Regions from separate parts of the Homo sapiens genome. Here region 2 is linked to region 1. The links are contacts of gene promoters, found by promoter capture Hi-C in human tissues and cell types (Jung and others, 2019). All regions are on one chromosome and are shown on one strand. Each heading gives the region's core, a stretch centred on a gene start or on the middle of the fragment in contact. The rest is flanking DNA. Distances are from core to core; before and after follow the strand shown. Region 1 holds the start of HAS2 (hyaluronan synthase 2). Region 2 has its middle 210 kb from the start of LINC02855.

Region 1 (3,014 bases), core at 147-2,646:
GTCCCCACGCACGCCCTGCCTCCGGGCGGCCGGCGGGCTGGCCCGGCGAGGAGAGGAGGGATGCGCGCCCTCCTCCCGCTCCTATCTGCGGGTGCCACCGCCTGCGTCAGGGACCCCTGGCCCGAGTAAGCCCAGACTGACGAGCCTGACACTTTAATGGGGTGCGGGAAGTGCAAAGGAGGGGAGGCCCGGGAAAGGGGGGAGTGGCCGAGAGGGGATGGTAGCTGCGAGGAGGTAGAGAAGGACCCTCCTTCTCCAGGGTCCCAGCTTGTCGGAGCTGGAAGCCCAGATTGCTTAACCCTTTGCATTCCCAGCAAGAAGCGACTTTTTCACTTAGAAGTAAAACGCGCTGGGCTATTCCAGTTTTTCTCCCCACAGTGTGTGTGTGTGTGTGTGTGTGTGGGAAAAAAAGAAGGGAAGGGGTGGGGCGGCTGTGCAGAATGCATTTTCCTTACATTGGGAATTCTTGTTTCCTAACTCTGGAGCCCCTCTGCTGCTCCGGAAGATGCAAAATGGAAAAGTACATCTGAGGACGTGCAGCCTTTCCCAGGCAGAGAGGCTACCTGTGTCCCCAGAAAGGCAGCGGATTTCTGGCGAGAGCCGCAGAAATGGGAAAAGAGGGCTATGTTGCTAAGCCTGACAGTGACCTGAAATATTCCCTGATCTTCAGTCTGTTGGAAATTTTTAAACTTCCAACTTTTCTATCGAAACTGGCTTAAAAATTTTAAAACAATTATAAGGATGTCTTCCTTCTCCCTGGCCTGTTGGAGGACCTTCATCCTTCACCAAAACGCGCCAGTGTAACGTACCTTGTTCAGCTCTTGGTCATAAAGTCGTCCTCAGCCTGTCTGTGTGGTCCCGGAGGGTCGGTGGCGGGCAGTTTCCAAAATTGAGGTAATAAGAGATCAGATGAATTTGAGACGACCGGCCAAAAAAAATAAGAAATTTAAAAACAACATTTAAAAAGGATAGGGGAGTCTTAAATGTTTGATTCTTCCCCACTTTAAAAAATAATTTCACTAATATTCTCTTTATGTTTCCGTTGCACTTCAGTCTAATTCTTAAAAAAATTATGCTTTAAAAATAAATTAACTTTTCTTTTTTCTTTTCTTTTCTTTTTTTTTTTTTTTTTTTTTTGGGCTTCAGTCTTTCTGCCCCCGATAACAGAAAATCTCTTTTTCGTCTTAAAAAAAAAAAAAAAAAAAAAAAAAGCCTGTGGAAGACTCAGCAGAACCCAGGAAGCGCAGAATTGGGAGAAAAGTCTTTGGCTGGGGCTGTTTCAAGTCTCTGGTTCAATGGGCTGCTCGAAGCCAGGACTGGGTAATTCTTTCCAGACGTCTTGACTTCTCCTTCCCCGCCGTTGTTGCCCTTCTGCCTCCTCCAACTTAAGGGGGTCTTAACAAGTGAGCTGGTGGGTGTTTTAATAGGGCGGCGGAGGGAGTGGGGGGGTGAGGGAAGTGGAGAGGGAGGTGTGGACTGGGGAACCCTGAGGGGAGGGAACTGGGAGCGCGGGCGGGCGGGCGAGCGGGAGGCGGGGAGGGGGAGAGGGAGAGAGAGAAATTGGCCATTCAAAGCCTTCTCTGAGCTACAGGCCGGTTCTAAACTCCAATGAATTCAATTAACTTGATTGCTAACGTGTGCAGAGAAATGCAAGACACATAGGGGGCCACCACCTGATTCCTTACTTTCCTCTGGCGGCGGAGGTGGGAGCCCTCGCCTCTTGGATTTCCCTGAACTCCCGCGTTACAAGTTCCCTCCAAGCGATAAACTCCCTGTGGCGCTGAAGTAATTTGTTTTAAAGCCAAATGGTGCCCTTCAGCTAAGTAACCGACCCAAGGAGGAACAGTTGGGAGGGGTGTGTGCACGTGTGTGTGTGTGTGTGTAAGTGTGTGCGTGTGTGTGTGTACCTGGAGCCTTCGACAGCCGGCTGGGACTCTAAAAAGATCGCGCTGGTCCACCACTTGTTAACCCTTTCTTCCCGCCAACTCAAAAGTTTCTGAGCTGACGTCAAGTGTCAAAGCCTTTCTCATAAAGAGGTTTCTGCCGTGGGTGGGCGGAAAACATAGAAAAGTAATTATATGTATATTTTTGCTCAATCTGGTCCCCTAACGTAAACATACTCAAACAGCGCGCATTAAAAATAAAATAATAAAAATTGTTTTCTGGAGGACTTATATTTAGCCATCTTGAAGGAAATGGCTTAACTGGCTTTTGCTTTTTGCAAGCCTTCTGCAAAGTTGACGAGGACAAATATGTCTTGCTTGGAGATGGCCTTTCCTCGTCGTTTTCACAATGCCCCAAGGCTGGGTAGAGTTCGTTTTTTGGTTACTCCTCCCCCCACCACTCCGCCTCCTTTCTTTCTCTTGGACCTTGCCAACAAGCCTGCTGATGACTGAAAATGGACAGTAGGTGGCACTGTTGAGGAAAAAATGAGAGTGACTTTACAAATTAACCAACTTGGTCTTGGGAGATTGCGCTGAAATTGTTATAGGGTAAAACAGATTTTTCTTTCTTTCTTTTTTCCTTCTTCCCCTTCCAAGGATCTTCTGAGGGGTGGACTTCTTTGGAACTCGACAGGACCTTGAAGACTGGGTTCTTAGTCCTTATCACATATATGGGCTATAATGAATAAGTCTAAACAGAAAAGTCGAATAAACTGGAAATGATGCTTTCATCACGTCGCACAAGGTGTAGTGTTGGGGGATGTGATTAGGGGTCAAGCATTTTAGTGCAATACCAGGTAGTCAGCCATCCCAGTCCCCAGGGGCTGACCTGCAAAGTACTGCGCGTTTCCGCCCCCTTCCCCCCGCCCCCCCCCGCCACGCCACACACACACACAGCGGTTACACCTCTGGGAAGCATTACCTTGGCCTGATGACTTCACGCTGCTCAGGGGACCCCACTGATTTCCCCCAGCAAACCTTCCTGCTTCAGCCTTTGTTTGAACTCCGCCTTAGGTGGTTCAACTCTTGGAGAGACTGGCTTAAATTTCAGATCACAATTTCATCCCACTT
Region 2 (3,132 bases), core at 507-3,006, 260 kb after region 1:
GAATGGACTGAATTGCAATGTGTTGAGAAGAATTCAAGGCCAAATTTAAGTCAGAAAGAGTGCCATAACTGACCCTTACTGTCCCCCATGGTGACACATGTGCCATGTATTTGCATTCACATTTTGGAGGTGAAACAGAAAGTCTTATTTTTCCTCTGCAGCCATTTTTAGATCTTCCATTGGATTGGGAACGTGAAAATGGCACAGAAAGAGAAAGAACATGCCAAGAAGTGGGGGCACTCAGGCACTTGCATCAGCTGCCTTGCAACAGTGAATGATAAAGAAAATACTATCATAAAAGGGATACAATACATGGTCCGTGACTGCAAAACCATATTAAAGTTCCTGTTCATTGACGTCATGGTTCACATATGGTGCATATGTATAATTGGAAATCTCAGAATTGCATTTTCATGAAAGAAGATGAAGATACCAAATGCCTTACTAAGAGTATTTATTTGTTTGTCAGTTATTTGCATGGAAATGTGGTAAAGAGAGAGCAATGCCTGGGACTGGGTGTTAGCATTAGTAAGTCAGAGAAAAACCTTCTTTGTAAGAAGTTATATACGAAGTTGTCAACTTTAATTTAGCATAAATTAATAACTGAAGACTGAAACAAAACACAGATGGCATAGAGTCAATCTGGAGTCTTCTAGAATCCTTTATTAAAAGAAAAAACCCATGAGAGAAAAGTAAAGATTGGAGGTCTCAAATCACAGTAATTGTATTACTCAAATCACAAATTCCTCCTTAACTCGACACTTAACTCGATGGAATTTTCATGATGTCAAAGCATGTAGATAGTTGGATAATTAGAAATGAGAATAAAGAACAGCTTAATGAATAACAGAATCTTTGACTTGTCATCCAGATGTTTTGATCCAATAATGTACACATATTTTATTGTGGATGATAGTAATTTGGCTTCAATATGTTACATAAAATATTTTTAAAAGATTAATATTATATACAAATATTTCAGTGTATTAACATCTAGCACTCATCTTTGTAATCATCAACAATTCGGACATTTTCTACTGTAAGCATTTTGCCATGCTCAATGTTTCCTTGCCTTGAAGAGGCAGATGAAACAGACCCCTAATCTTACTCAATGTCCATAGGTTGTGCTTGTGAGTATCGGGAAGAGGAACAGTCTCTTGTAATGTGTTTCTTACCGAAAATATCAATGACTCCAGCCAAATTTTTTGTTCTTATTGAGCCTCAGTTGTTTTTTTCTCCTAAATAAATAAAGGCATTAGAAGTAATAACTATAACACCAATACTTTTTGTTGTAAGTGGCAGAAGCCTAGCTAATAATAACTTAAATATAGGCTTATGTTTCTTACATAAGTGGTTTGGAGATGAGTAATCTAACGCATGGCCGGTGGCTCTATGATACTCACTATTCCTAGCTGTTTGCTTGTCACCTCATGGTCATAAAGTGGCAGCTACGGCTCCACACTTTGCACCTACATTCAATTCAGCTGCCTGCTATGCTAGTTTCTTATATCAGGAATTTTTTTTAAAAAATTAGATTTTGTCTTACATATCGCCACCAGAAATATGTCATATGGCAACCTCTAGCTGAAAAAGGAAATGCGAAAACAAATAGAGACCTGGGCACATTTTTGCCCCAAAACAAAAAGAGGTTCTGTTTGCAAGGAGAAGGTGGAAAGTGACTATTTGGTATGCATCCATTTCTGCCACAGAGACTACCAAGGTCCCTTTCAGCTTCAAAATTGTGATGGAGAAAATTATGCCAGATAAAGTTTAATGCCATAGGCAAGCTAGTGTTGGGAAATCTTTGTCCCATTCTTGTGACTGGAGAGTTGCCTGGAACTGAGAAGATCCCTTTGGGTCCTCTTATTCATGATTACAAAATATAACTTTCACCTAAAAAATTTACATGATTAAAAGAAGTAACTTACACCAAAAGTATCAGGATTGCTTCTAAGTTCCTGGAAAGATTATCAGCACGACTGCTAAGATTTGTGAGCTCTGTGAGAAAATTTCTGCACAATTTCCAATTAAATTAGCTGTTGTCAAGATGTTGCGTTTTTAATATGGTGGCCAGATGTATCTTTTTATTCTGATCATATATTTTTCTGCTTTTCTGAAAATGGTTATAGAGTAATTTTTTTTAAATTCCAGGTTTGACTTTCTAGATTGCTCCAATTTTCCGTGTGTGTGTGTGTGTGTGTGTGTGTGTGTGTGTGTGTTTAATAACTGTAAATAAAACTACCATAGGGTTTTGAAAGCTCAACATACAGAAACAAAACTTAGCTAGATTTAGAAGTGTTCCGATATCTTATTGGCTATTCTCTTTTGCCAAATAATTAAAATCAAAGAAGTGTGCATGAATATAGGAAACTTTAGGGTATTCAACCATTCACTAAACAAATATTTATAAAGTACCTATGTTTATTATGTGCTATATGGCAGGTACTGTTTTAGGCTGTAGGATTATAGTGATAAACAAGGTGGAACAAATTGTTGCTTTTATGAAGCTTATATTTTAGTGAATATATAGAGGTAAAAAGTAATGAACACTCAGAGCAATAGAATAGAGAGTGACTAGGTGTATGAGTCTGTTCTCGTGCTGCTAAGAAAGGCATACCTGAGACTGGGTAATTTATAAAGGAAAGAGGTTTATGAACTCACAGTTTCACATGGCTGGGAAGGCCTCACAATCACGGTGGAAGGCAAAGGGGAAGAAAATCACGTCTTATATGGTGGCAGCCAAGAGGGTTTGTGCAGGGGAACTCCCATTTATAAAACTATCAGATCTCGTGAGACTTATTCACTGTCACAAGACCAGTATGGGGGAAACCACCCCCATGATTCAATTATCTCCACCTGGCCCTGCCCTTGACATGTGGGGATTATTACAATTCAAGGTGAGATTTGGGCGGGGACACAGACGAACCATATCACTAGGCAAGGTGAGTGTAGGGTGCAGTTTGAGATAGAGTGTTCAGTAGAGGTATTTCAGTGACTTTTGAACTAAAGACTAATGTTTCTTTCCTCTATTTACCCCAGTTTACTTACTTTGCAGGATCATTCTTAAATATAACTCTTTGTAAAAGTTTTTATCCTCACACAGATAATTGAATTATTAATCATTTTTTCTAC

Evidence for each region. Contacts are between HindIII fragments. The study calls those that stand out against the background at their distance.
Region 2: a fragment that was not itself captured here is called in contact with the fragment with the promoter of HAS2 in region 1 in 1 of the 25 tissues and cell types used here (mesendoderm cells).

Annotation. Positions count from the first base shown.
Region 1 is chr8:121,640,044-121,643,057 of GRCh38, forward strand. HAS2 (hyaluronan synthase 2) reads right to left here and starts at 1,397. Exons shown (of 4, transcript NM_005328.3): 1 at 810-1,397. It also overlaps HAS2-AS1. RefSeq lists an enhancer at 2,056-2,679. The HindIII fragment of the contact is 13,134 bases long and covers 1-3,014 here.
Region 2 is chr8:121,903,918-121,907,049 of GRCh38, forward strand. No RefSeq gene overlaps it. Among named protein-coding and RNA genes, the nearest start is that of LINC02855, 210 kb to the left of the region's middle. The HindIII fragment of the contact is 3,794 bases long and covers 1-3,132 here.